Linked DNA regions of Homo sapiens: region 2 is linked to region 1. Evidence: promoter capture Hi-C in 16 types of primary human blood cells and fetal thymus (Javierre and others, 2016). All regions are on one chromosome and are shown on one strand. The core of a region is centred on a gene start or on the middle of the fragment in contact, and the rest is flanking DNA. Distances in the headings are between cores, read along the strand shown.

Region 1 (6,663 bases), core at 1,072-3,571:
ATCTTTCTGCTACGTTCCAAAATGTTGATACTATTTTCCAGGTAAGTGAGGTTTTACCGTACTACTGTGTTCTTGGAATATTAATTTCTGTCTTTGATTATATATCTTTTCATATATAGTAAATTTATGTTGCTATTTATATTTTAAAATGACCAATTTCCCTCCACTGGCCTCATAATAAAAGAAATAAAAGTCTCCTGTTGGCTAAACGTTAAGTACATAGCTTTGGATTTTTTTTCCTCCCTGGAGCCTCAGAACGTGTACAGGTGTCCTACATGCCTTTTACAAAAAAAGAATCAAGGGCTAGGAACCTAGGTTTTGAACGTGCATTCAATGTACATTCATAATAAAAGCTGAACGACTGGCACATTCATGGTTGCTCCTTGATGTAAATGAACGGCTGAATGAAAGTTTAGGGGCACAGCTCACCTCCAAGAGAGACCCTCTTCACACTTAGACCTGACCAAGGGATCTTGAATTCCCTTGTAAAACTAGCTTTTCCTCTCCATAGCAGCTGGCCTCTTCCTCCCGGTATCTTTGTAATCCGGCTGGGTGTTTTTTTTTCTTTTTCTTTTTTTTTTTCCCACACTGCCGTTGGATAAAAGATCCCGCCTTTGATTGAAATGGAATCTTCCACTATTGAGCAAGCCTTTGTTGAATGAGTCATCGGGGCGGCCGCTCATTGGCTGAGGCCGCTGGAGCCCAGGGGATTGCCTGGCACCGGCTGCAAGGCCCTGCTTCATTCACAGAAACGCTGGCTCGCTCGCTAGCCTTTTCATTCACACAAACAGCATTTCATTCACATTTTGCGGTTTTTGTCTGCATCTAATGAAGATCTCGCTTTGGGAATGATAGGGCTGTTTCGCTACAGATCTGGGGAGGACTCTGATAACCATCAAAATCATCTATGGGGTGTGCAATTGCTGTTGCTATGCAAGCTAGGGAAAGGGAACAAATGAGTGCCGTGTAGCTGTTCTGCTAGGGCTGCGGCACAGGAGGCGAGCCGTGGGGACGCGTTTCCTGTACCGGGGACGCCGCGGCTCCTCTGCGCTCTTGCGTCCTAGGGGTTGGCCTCACCCGCTCGCCCGCCATGAGTGGCGCTCATTAAACTCTGCTCCATAGAGCAGGGTTCAAGACTCAGGACCTCACGTGCCCCACATGTTCGGTCATGGGAGTGAGAGGACTCAGGGTGACCTGAGAGTGTGCTAGAGCTGAATTTATTCGCTTGCTCAGAAGTTGCGGGAAAACTTTGATAGTGAGTGTTTCACTGTGGAGCAGGTGATCCTAATGCATGAGGAAGCCTGGCAGAGCCCACTGAGGTCAAGAGTCAGAGGGCTTCAGTCTCGGGCAGACCTCTGGGGACAGCGAAAGCCTTGCTCTCCTAACTGAGAGGAAGAAGGCCTGTGCATTTTACTTGCAAGCCCGAGCCTGACTCCTGAAAAGAAGGCATATTTTCCTCCTTGTGGATTTGATGTGCAATAAGAACAGCTGCATTTTTTCCTTCCTGACTGCAGGGTTGCAAGCAGCAACTGAAGGAACATTGAAATGTATTTGTAGCATTTCTTAGGCGTTTTTCCAGAGCTTAAACACATTCAGTAGGATTAAAGCTTCAAATGCAGCCCCTTTTTTGGAATGGATTTCTGGAGCCTGTTGCCACTCGTGAAAGAAGCACTCTTCTTTTTTGGAAGTGGATATTCAACTTAACCCTGGCTGAGAAAGACTGCTGTAAATGAGCAGGGAAGACCCCTTGATTGGCACTGTGCAGAAGTTCATATGCAGATTTTTTTTTTTTTTTTTTTTTGAGGAACTGCATTGCCACAAAGACACTTGTCATCGCTGCTCTGTTAATTTGAAAAGAAAAAGCAAAACCCAGGAAATTGGTATTTTACAGTCACCTGGGGGTGAATATCCTTTTTGTTTTTTTCTATTTAAAAATTCCTGCTGCCTTCCAAGTCAAGATTCATCAGGATTCGCTGAAGATCTGATTCTTAAAAAGCCTTCGTCACATTTTAACGCATCGCTGTTAGACACTTTTACAGGCTCACACAGATGGGCTGAGCAGGGACGAGCAAAACCTAACAGAATAATGGGTTTCAGAAAGTTCATTTGACGATTTGAAGGAACTGGATTGGATTTACCTTTGGCACAAATGCAGATTGCGGGGGATGGGAAGGTGAAAAATCAAAGGTTGGAAGGAAATATCTGGGAAGGTAGAAAAAGGAAATTTGAGAATTGATTGGCTATAGTGTGCTGTCAGCGGGTGGATGTCGTTTTTTTCTTCTTTTTTTCCTTTTTTTTCTTCTGCTACAGGAAGTGATTTGCAGTGCTCACCGAGCCTTTGTTGAGAAGGGTCTCCTCTCAGAGTGAGTCATGCTTTTGCTGTGAGCAGCCCCAAGCAGCTGGGCGCTCCATCAGAGGCAACTATGACTTTTGCAAAGCAAACGTGCAACCCCAAGCAGCGGTCTCCCGGGCCGGGGCTGCGCGGCCGCCGCTGTGCTGGCTTTTAACGGTGGGAGGGCACCATCCTCTTGCTCTGCTCTCGTTCTCCAGAAGGCTGTCCCGGGGCCCCCACTCTCCGTCCCGCTCCGGGGACAGTGGCTCGCCTGCTATGCGCGGCAGCCCGCGCCGGGGCCGGCACCAGCAGCGCCCGGGCGGATGCAGCGAGCCCACGGAGGGGCATGCTTCCACGCACCAAGTATAACCGCTTCAGGAATGACTCGGTGACATCGGTCGATGACCTTCTCCACAGCCTGTCGGTGAGCGGCGGCGGAGGCAAGGTTTCGGCGGCGCGCGCGACCCCGGCGGCGGCTCCCTACTTGGTGTCCGGCGAGGCGCTGCGCAAGGCGCCCGACGATGGGCCCGGCAGCCTGGGCCACCTGCTCCACAAGGTGTCCCACCTGAAACTCTCCAGCTCGGGCCTCCGCGGCCTGTCGTCGGCCGCCCGGGAGCGGGCGGGCGCGCGGCTCTCGGGCAGCTGCAGCGCGCCCAGCCTGGCCGCCCCGGACGGCAGTGCGCCCTCGGCGCCCCGCGCCCCGGCCATGAGCGCCGCCAGGAAGGGCCGGCCCGGCGACGAGCCGCTGCCCAGGCCCCCTCGGGGGGCGCCGCACGCCAGCGACCAGGTGCTGGGGCCCGGAGTCACCTACGTGGTCAAGGTGGGTGCGGGCGCGGGCCGCCCTGGGGGCTGGGGGTTCTGGGGCCAGTTCGGGGCAGACTCCTTCATTCCCTGAAGCCCGGGGTGCGGGGCGCTCCCGCGACTGTCACGTTAGAGGCAAGCAAATGCGCACTCCTTAGCAATCAGCTCGCTTGACAGCGGTGAGGAGGGAACTACAAATGCGCTTTTCCCGCATCCATTGGGAAAAGGTTTACCACTCGGGTGGCCCGCTCCGTCCCGGTTTTCCCTAGGCTCCACTTTTTTGGCACGCCTTTGCCACCTGGCTTACCAGATGTCTGACCAGTGTCATGGGCGCCCAACCCTGGGCAGCGGGGGTCCGGCCTGCCTAGTATCTAGGAAACGCGCTGGGGAGAGCTGGGCAGCCCCCGGGAGGAGAGATGCACGGAGTGGCGGCCCTACTCCTGCTGTGTCTTCCCCGGCGGGAGGGTGGGTATCTTGTTGCCCCCCGCAGCAAGAATTCCCAGCTCCTTGCAGAGCAGGCCAAATGCTGTGCTGCTTTCTCTTCGACGGGCTTTACTTTCTCACCCAGTCCAGGTTTTCTTGGGGTTTGTCTTTCATTCCCTAAGGAAAGGTTCTGGTTTACAGCAGCGGAATGAGAATTCTGGGACTATTTTTCTGGTGACTGTAGTCTTCCATTTAAATGTGCTAAAAGGGAACTAGGGCGCTGCGCTTGGAGCCACAGGCTGGAAAGGAGTTTTTTCCTCCAACACAAAGATGATAAAATCACGATGTAGTCAATAAAATTCCACCCTTATGCAAGCATGTTATGATATTTAAGGAAAAATGCTCAGCACAGTTCAAGTAATCTGCCACGCGGTTATTTCCTTCTGCCGGTTGGGCAGCTCAGAGCTTTAACAGCCTCCACAGCCGAGCAGACAGGGGTTAAGGATGGAAGTTGCAGTATTTCAATCCTGCCACTCCAAGGCATGGCTTTGTATTGAGAAAGAAATGAGACACAAACTCTATCCCCACCGTGTCCTCAATAACACTGAGAAACCCCCAGGATGTCTGTTCCGTAAATATTGGCTGCAGATTCCAGTGTAAAAATTAAATAGAACACATCCTCAGGTAAAATGCAGTGTCTGGTAATTTCGGAACCAAAATATTAACAGAAATACTTAACTTTGTGGATTGCCTTTAACTATATAAAAAGTACTTACAGATGAATGTGGCCATTGTTGTTAAAAGAGGGCTTCTTCACCTTTTCAGTCTGCTTTTTAATTTAACCTTCAAACTATGGATTATTATATTTTACCAAAGGGGTATAGATGAGCATAATATATGCATATTTGGTTGAGTTTATTTTAAGAGGTACTGAATATTCTTCTTGTTTTGCTTATTTAAATTATATAACCAGGGGCCAAAACAAAAAGAAAAAAACAAACCAAACCAAAAATCCCTGACAGCTTTGAGGTTGTGTTTACTTCTGGGGTGTTAGCATAATTGCTGTTTTAAAAAGCCTACATTTCAAATAGACAAATAGACCTTGGCAAAGCTTTTTCTACCTGTCATATTAAACAGAGTAGTTTTCAAATTGAGGGAGAATTCTCAAACTTATGGCTTTAAATTTTTGTTTTAATCACTTTGCTTAGAACTTTGCTTTTGCTTTTTAAAGAAGGAAGGCCAGCATCAAGTTTGAAAGGTCAAATGTGGCAAAATAATGATGAATGTACGAAAATAAGACGGCTCTGCGTCGACAATCTGTTGCTGTAAGGTTTGTGACTTACTGGCAGCATCAGCAGTAGTATTCATAGTCAAAGGGCTGGATCTGCACAGAGCTTGTCTGTGTCTTGGGGTTACTTTGTGTTGCCTCAAATTTAAGGGGTTGCAGTGATGGGTTGAGGGGTGCATGGCATGACTAATTAGGGCTCTGTACCATCCATGTTTTGGTTCCTTGTTCATTAGCAGCCATGAATGGTGCTGTGATGTGAACATAAACGCAGGCATTGTCCTCTGCTGTCCTGGAGAAGTTTGAAATCACGCAGAAAGAAAACCAGATGCTAAAGTGTGTGTGCATGTTTGATTCAAATTATCACATGGCCCTCTGTTGGCGCACATGTGCAAATTCCCGCATTGCCCATGTTGAGTTTAAAACCTCGAACTTATTTTATTGAAAAATTGTTAAACTGAAAACAATCTTAATTTGGCGTTATTTAGAATTTTTGAATAGTTCTACCGGTATCCTTACTTTAAAAGATTTCTGGTAGATAGAAATGGGCCATCTTTATCATATGACTAGATACCAATAGTAAAATATAAAGGTTTAGGGTTTGGGAAAGGATGCATTATTCTCTTTGATATAATTTTTTTCTAAATTAAAAATAAAGCCCCCAAATGTTTTCTAGTTTCCTGGAAAATTTATATACTGTATTATAGATTTTCCCCCTCAAAGAAATACCTACTTACAGGTGATATTAGGATATTGCACATATGAATTATAATTCAAAAATATTTCAACTTAATCTGAGAACAGGGACTGTAAAATACAGAAGTCTGGTGAATTTTGATCATCTAGGAAACATTAAACTATTTGAGCAACAGCTTAGAATGTGAATTAATGAAGGACTTAAAATTTAAACATGGAAGAAGTTCCTGAGCAACAGTAGAATTCAAAGCTCAAAGCATGTCTAATTGGTCCATCATTGAGTTTGCTGCTAAATAACAGAATGGGGCTATGCACACAGAAAGGCTGCAGCTTACTCTGCCTAGAGGTTTATATTCTTTTCAGCTGGGCCTCATTGGCAGCACCTTTTTACTCCCCTAAGTATCTTGACATTTCCTTTTTTCTTTTGGTGACGTAAAAGAAAGAACAAGGAACTATGCTCTTGATAGAAAAGAAAAATCCAACAGCAAAGAACAATGACTATTTTCATTAAATTTCCATTTTAAAAGTATTTGATATTTGGACCTAAAAGAAATACCAATGAGTATTGATTACGGTGCTGCCCACCTTTAAATTATCTTATCCTAAAGTCAAGCCTGGGTAGGACCCCAATCACTCAAGGAGGCTGCTGGTCTTTAGCAGGTTCAAAAGGCAATATCCTGGTCCTCCACCTTCTCTGTCCTCAGATCCACGGTGGGGAAACTGTAGGAAGGAATATGAACAGTGCAGGGGACAGGAGGCAGGGGTTCAGTTTTTAAAGAGCCAGTGGGCCATCTGAAGACAAGCACAGCCTTGACATTCAGCTCTGAAACTGCCTGCTGGAGGGGCGAGGCTGGAGCAGGAAGCAATGCTGTGTGGGCTGCACCGGGTTTGCCTTTGGCCCCAGCGTGGTCCCCAAAAGACGGGCTCCTTCTTAGAGCACATCACAGCACAGACTTCAAAAGGATAAGAAGTGACCATATTTAGAAATGACCCAAGTGCCAAGGGCAAGAATCAGGAGGCCCAATGTAAAAGCAATGGTTTTAGGTGCCCACTGCTCAGAGCTATTCCAACAGCGTCAGCATTCAGTGAGCCAGCAGATTACGCCATTCATAAACACCTGTGAAGG
Region 2 (6,663 bases), core at 2,408-4,907, 590 kb after region 1:
ATAGGAAGCCCACTCCACTCACTCTACTATTGTTGAAATTGAGAATTGGGACAACATATCTGAAAATGAGAATTTAACAATGTGTATCAAGAAATTAAAAATTATTTAAATCTCTGACCTAGTCGTTCCACTTCTAAAAGTATATGCAAGGGAAATTAAATGAAAAAGAGACAAAATTATATCCACACAGTGATGACAAGAGTGCTGTTTCTAATGGTCAAAAAATGGGAACAGCCTAAAAATCCAACAGTAAACTATGATTTGGAGACGGAGTATTATGTAGCCATCAAAAAAGAGTTTGTGAATAATTTTTATGGAAAAGGGCTTTTTGAAAGCATAAACTTTTGAGAAAGACTGAAAAGAAAAGCAAAATATTAACTGTGGTGTCTGTGGAAATATGGTTTGGTTTCATTTCCTGCACTCTGCAAAATTTTCTCTCGGGGTATTCTTAACCTGGAGTTATGGGCCCCCTGGTGGTGAAGGGGATCTATAAAAACCCTCAACAATCGTATATTGGGTGTATGTGCAATTTTCCCACATATAAAACAAGCCCTTGAAATGAAATTATGTGGGCTCTAACCACCAAGAAAGCTGAGTCATTTTTTTCCTCAAGAAAGCAAAGACCCTGAGGACCTACACGTTCTCTTCCCCAGCACAGCCTACCATTTCCAGGGGCAAAAGAGAACCACGGTGCCCCACAAATCCCACCTGCCAAGAATCTGTCCCAGGCAGTGTCTCTAGAGCTTCTGGGCAGGTGGAGGAGGCTGCAGGGAGCTGCAAAGAAAAACCAACTTTCCATTTGGCATTTGCAAAGCCTTGACACAGAACCAGGTTTGTCTTTGTTTTTTGCTTGTTTTTTTGTTTCTTTGTTAGCTTTTGCACCTTTTTGTAGGTGCATTTTTTTTCAAAGGCAGAGAATTTCCTTGCTCATTCCCCTTGTCTGCCTGAAAGATGCAGATGGAATGTGTACCTGTATCCCCAGTGGAGATTCGTTCAGAGTCCTGAGCCTGCAGAATTACCTGCACTTGTTCCTGCTTCACGAAATCACAAGAATAAAAATGTTAGCAATCTCATCTTTGTCTGTGAATCAGTTACTCTGAGAGTGTCTTAGGCAAAGGCTTTTGGAATTCCCTTTTGCCCTAGAAGCCTGACCTGCAGAGGTGTGCACCCCACACTCACCATTGTTGCTCCTGCTGAGCTGCCTGCCCTGGGCTTGAACGACCAGAGGCTGAATGACCAGACAAATCAATAAGATCCAATGGGCCGAGGTGACACATAGCCCCCAGTGCCAGTCTACAGGCTCTGCACAGATGCCGATAGGTCATTTTTAATCATGATTTTCGATTTTTCAACCCCAGAATGCCTTATACACCCAAGTCTCACCGTGCGGATTCCCTTCTTTAGAAATTACAGCGCTGCATGGAAAGAGGCTGCCGGCAGGCTTGTGCTGCCTGGGTCAGCGTCCTCCATGTGCCACTGATCAGGGCTGAGAAGGCTTCGCAGAGCGCATCTCGGTGTCTTTCCAAAAGCCCAAAACTCTGTATTATGTGGCATCCTCAGACTGGTCTAGGAGAGCCCAGAGCTCCCCAGCTCCTCCTGAGATCAGCTTTTCGGGGGTTGAGAGGGAAAACACAACACTGAAACACGCACACAACTGACAATAATATCCTTCCTCTGCTGGCAGCCGAGTCCTGAGAATGAGTTTGAATAGTTTGGGAATGCCCCGGCCCACTGACCTTTCACCCAGCCGCAGATGGTAGACTTTTATTTTTATTTTTACCAACTCTTGCTCCTGCTCCTGATCCCTTAAGGTTTGAACTCTGTCCTACATGTTGTTCCCCTCTGTGTGCCCATTGCTGCAGGTTCATTATACAGGTAAACTCGTGCACAGGGGTTTGGTATACAGGTTATTTTGTCACCCAGGTACTAAGCATAGAACCCACCAGTGATTTTTTTGTAATCCAGCCCTAAACCTAAAATAAAAGTTGAAAAAAAAAACACAAAAAACTACCTATCAGGTACTATGCTCACTGCCTGGGTGATGATATCATGGTAGTACTCACCCCCAAACCTCAGCAACATGCAATTTATCCATGTAACAAACCCACATACATGCTCCCTGAACCTAAAAACATAAAATAAAATAAAAAAATAAAAGAACCCTGTCCTACATGGATAGAAATTATTTCAAAACATACCTCAAAAATGCCAGGACCTCATGCTCATTTGCCACTTGGTTAAGTCACAGTTATCCTATGTGACTGTTAGATGAGTTTCCTTCAAACGTGAGCCCTCTTCTTAACAGAGAGTTGTTCCTGACTTGGAAACTCTGCTTTTCAGTGGACCATAAGGTGCCCCTCACTCATTGCAAAGCGCAGGGAGGTTCTTGAGCTCTCCTGGCTGGAACACAGCAGGCAATTTCCTCCGTGAAGCTTAACTTTTATTTTATATAAAAACAGATAAATTGTATGTACAACATATAATTTTTAACTTACAACAAAGTATAGCTACATAATTTTATAGTGGGGTTTTGTGATGACACATTAGGTCAAAGTAAAGAGCACAAAGTTGAACTACAATGCCGCCAGTTGCAACGCTGCCCACACGAAGGGAGCTGGTCCACAGTCATATGTATGGCACGTTCGTGTCCTCACAGCAACGACACAGCTTCTGAGCTCCATCCTCTGCCTGGAACCAAGCAAGTCTATTTTGCTGCTAATAGTAAGGCCCATCTCAATTTCAGAATTTGTGTTAAAGAATGAAAGAATTCTGTGTTGAGACTCAACAAAATACTGTTGTCGAAATGTGCGCAGCTGCTGCAGGGTCCTCATTCACTGGCCTTGCCAGGAAGCCACAGAGTCGGCAGGCAGAAAACGATGCCCACATTGAGTGGAGAATTTCTGTTTCTAATGAAATCTTCCACGCAGTTGATGGCCTGCATACCCTGGCCTATTTTCCACAGCAAACAGAGTCCTTCCAAAAGATTCATCAACTTAGCAGCATGCATTACATATACACACGATAGACCCTTTCCCCCTCCATTACTGCCTCTCAGCTGACTGCATTTGGCCTGAGACAACTTCATGGCTAGAAAAATCAATAGTGTGGAGGGCAGCCACGCCTTGCCAGTGGATCCATTATCTGTCTCTTTCCTATCTCCATTAATAGAGGGAAATGTTTTCTTAGTGTTATGCGAATTAGAGAAAGAAGCAGTGTCTGCCACAGAATATTGTATTTGTTGAAATTGCCTCTTTGGTGGAAATTTGCCATAAAGTATGTCTGACCAAAGGCTAAAATCACCCAATATTCCTGATTCACTTTCCCTCTTCCTGCTCCCAAGAGAGCATCGGCATTGGAGGTGCATGCTCTCCAGGGGACATGGATGAGAGTGAGGCAGGATATTTTCTTGACCCTTTTGCAGGACTCACGAGAAGGGTGCCCCTTTTACTCAGCTGACCATGCTCAACCCCTCGCAGGAGGGAGCACATGAGCGAACCAGTGCAGGAACCAGCCCGCCAATTCTGGCTTCTGTGCAGACAAGAGCAAACTCGGTTTACTCCAGCCCACCACACTCCATTTCTTGCCAGAGGGAGCGAGTAGGCAAGCCAATGCAGGAACCAGCTGGCCATTTTGGCGCCAGCAGAGAAAACTCAGTGCAGGCCCTGCGTCAGCATCCAGGTGGGGGCGCCTGCGATCCCAAGGCCCCAGAGGGCATGTTGCAATACTTAGTTCTACTGTCCACAGACAGCAGTGTGTTATCAGCTCAGTGGGCCTTTTGTCTCGCTGCGTGGGGCAGCTGCCCTCCACCAGTGAGGGCAAAGGGCCAGTGTGACAGCCTTTTTGGTACCCACATTTGGTAGGTCTTGAATTCTTGTCCAGTTCCAAGAAGAATGCGGTCACATGAACAAATTGAAGGATGATGAATGTGGAAATTTTATTGAGTGATGAGAGTGGCTCTCAGCAGAGAGTGGAACTGGAAAGGGGATGGAAAGGACAGGTCACTCTCCCCTGAAGTCAAGCAGCCTCTCTGCCTCCCTCCTCTGAAATCAAGTTGCCTCTCTCTGAAGTACAGCTGCTTCTCTCTACCAGCTAAATCTGGGGTCCTTATAAGCACAGGATGGGGGGTGGGGCAGGCCATAAGTAGTTTTGGAAAAGGCAACATTCAAATGGAAAAAACACATTACTCAGAAAAAACTAATAGGGAGAGAGTAGGCAAAGAGGGACGGAAGTTCTCACTTTAAGCCGTGGGTGTCAGGCTTTTTGGCTTGAAAGTGGGGCTTCACCAGGGACCAACTCCTGTCTGTCTAGAGTTTCTCTGCCTCCTGCCTCTATCAAGAGGAAATAGTAAAAATAAGTGAGGTGACAGCCATGCCCTATTCCAAGTGTCAATGTACAGTGGGGCACAGGCAAGGCAGTGGGGCCAGTGGCTCCCTGCTGGGCCTTGTCCTCAGATGGGCACAGTGGGTGGCTCGCAAGAAATTTGAGAGGTCTTCCCCACTGCCTTGCATTGATTCTGGAGCCTGTGTGTGCCAGCCCTCTGATCCCTGCAGGGCCACCCTCCCTGAAAGCATCTAGAACAGGGGTGATGCTGGGGTTGCCCCACACCACGCTCAGCCCTGCCCTCAGCCAGGCTCACCCCAGGGGGACAGGGTATGTGAGAGGCGTGTCTACACACCCCTACACAAGGCCAGGCCAGTGGGGACTTCTGGAGGCATCACAGGTGTGCATGTGGCAAGGGGCACATTTAAAGCTGGTTTCTAGTTCCTGCAGAGAAGAGGAAACTGGAGCCTCTCCCCTGTACCCTGTGTGTGCACAGCCCCATTTTCAACCTTGCTTACCAACCTTGGCACCATCCCTGGGAACGTTCCAGTTTTTAAGCTTCTCTGCTCCTCTGTTTAACTCTGGCCCTCTTGTCACACCAGAGCAAATCCTGGGACACAAAAGTATCCTAGCAGGACATGGGGTCAACAGAAAAGGCTACGGAGTGGTAGAACAAACTAAGATTTGGAGCCCAAGTTCAGTTTCCCTTGAGGTTTCTCCATGGAACCAAGTGAAAATGATACCCCCCACCCCTCCGCTCACACTGTTCCAGCGTGGACACACACACCACAATCTGCCATGAGCAAAGGAGAATTCTGGGCAGCACAAGCTATTGTGGCTAAATCCAGAATTAGGGTCCATTTTCCCCTTGCCCACAGCTGGTTGCCTTCTCTGCTCATGCATAGAGCAGACACTGAGGCCCAGGGCACCCTGCCCCACAGCCCAGCAGGGCAGACAGAGGCAGATCAAATCTCTCTTTCCTTTGTGTGATGTTCTTGGGTATCTTTTCCCACTATTTTCTGTGGGCAGAAAAGGGATGGTATAGAAATGTGTCATCTCCCACCCACAAGACCTCCACAGTCAGGAGAGAGGTAAGGATTGTTCTGCCAGCTCCTATTCACTTTATTCATTATTGAAGACTTTAAAGACGAGGTAATGAGACAACCTGGACCCTGTTGAAGTATATCAATAGTAGAATTTTTAAAAACAGAGCATGGCCCCTCTGCACGAAATCCACAAGTTTCTGTGTGTCTGCGTAGCTGTTGGGAGAGAACAGGCAGGACTGACACCACTCCTGCCGTTCCACCAACCAACCTCCCTGGCAGGGCCTTGCCTTTGGGGAAGCTCAGCCCATGAGTGGTATTAGTTCCTGTCTTCATCCATTTGGGTGGCTATAATGGAATACCATAAACTAGGTGGCTTATAAACAACAAAAAATTATTTCTCACAGTTCTACAGGCTGGGAAGTCCAAGATCAAGGCACCAGAAGACGTGTTGTCTGGCCAGGTGAAGGCTCCTTCCTCAGAGACAGCGCCTTCTCGCTATGTGGTAGAAGAGGTGAGGCAGCTCTCTGGGGTCTCTTTCAGGAAGGCACTAGTCCCATTCACGAGAGCTCCACCCTCATGACCTCATCCCCTCCCACAGGCCCCACCTCTTACTGACATCACACTGGAGAGTCAGTTTCAGCACAGGAATCTCAAGGGACACAAACATTCAGGCCATAACAGTTCCTTTCCCATGATCTTTAGTGCATTGACCACTGAAGATCACCAAACTAATCATCTCCATATGTACCCTACCTCCAACTGTCTCTATCTTCTCTTGCCCCTCCCCGCAACCCCATTTCCTGCCTGCATAGGAGAGACCTGCTCAGCAGCCTGGAATCTATATGGAAACATCTTCACAGACACAACACATCTAGCAAGAGCAAGGGCTGCAGCCATGGAGGACCCTTCAGAGTCCCTCAAGGCTGTGTTTGGCCTGGGACATTCCACAGGCACGATGAGCATGAAGAAGAGGTTCTGAGAGGACCTTGTGTGCCACCCTGACCTCATGCACACCCTGCTGGATGACCACAAAAAAGGAACAGATCCCACCACCTACACCTGGGGAACCCTGAGACCAGCCCTCCCTGCACACCCAGGGACGCTCCAGACCAGGTCCTGACCCACGCACGGGGATATGGGGACCAGAGGCCCACCCACACACTCAGGGACATAGGAACCAGAGCCAACTGTCCTTGTCCTCTTCTACCATGTACCTCAGGAGCTTAAGGCAGTGGCTTATGTGCCTGGAAAAGCAGAAGATTGCAGAAATCGTGTTTTGGAGGGAAATGAACTTGCA

The links. The method cuts DNA at HindIII sites, captures the fragments that hold promoters and counts their contacts. A CHiCAGO score of 5 or more calls a contact.
Region 2: a fragment that was not itself captured here is called in contact with the fragment with the promoter of SHC3 in region 1 in 2 of 17 cell types (M1 macrophages and endothelial precursors); the score reaches 5.9 in M1 macrophages.

What each region holds. Positions count from the first base shown.
Region 1 is chr9:89,174,476-89,181,138 of GRCh38, reverse strand. It overlaps SHC3 (SHC adaptor protein 3), which reads left to right and starts at 2,321. Exons shown (of 12, transcript NM_016848.6): 1 at 2,321-3,152. The coding sequence starts at 2,679. The HindIII fragment of the contact is 3,060 bases long and covers 1,610-4,669 here.
Region 2 is chr9:88,587,794-88,594,456 of GRCh38, reverse strand. No RefSeq gene overlaps it. Among named protein-coding and RNA genes, the nearest start is that of NXNL2, 56 kb to the right of the region's middle. RefSeq lists enhancers at 397-556, 4,554-5,059. The HindIII fragment of the contact is 2,446 bases long and covers 2,435-4,880 here.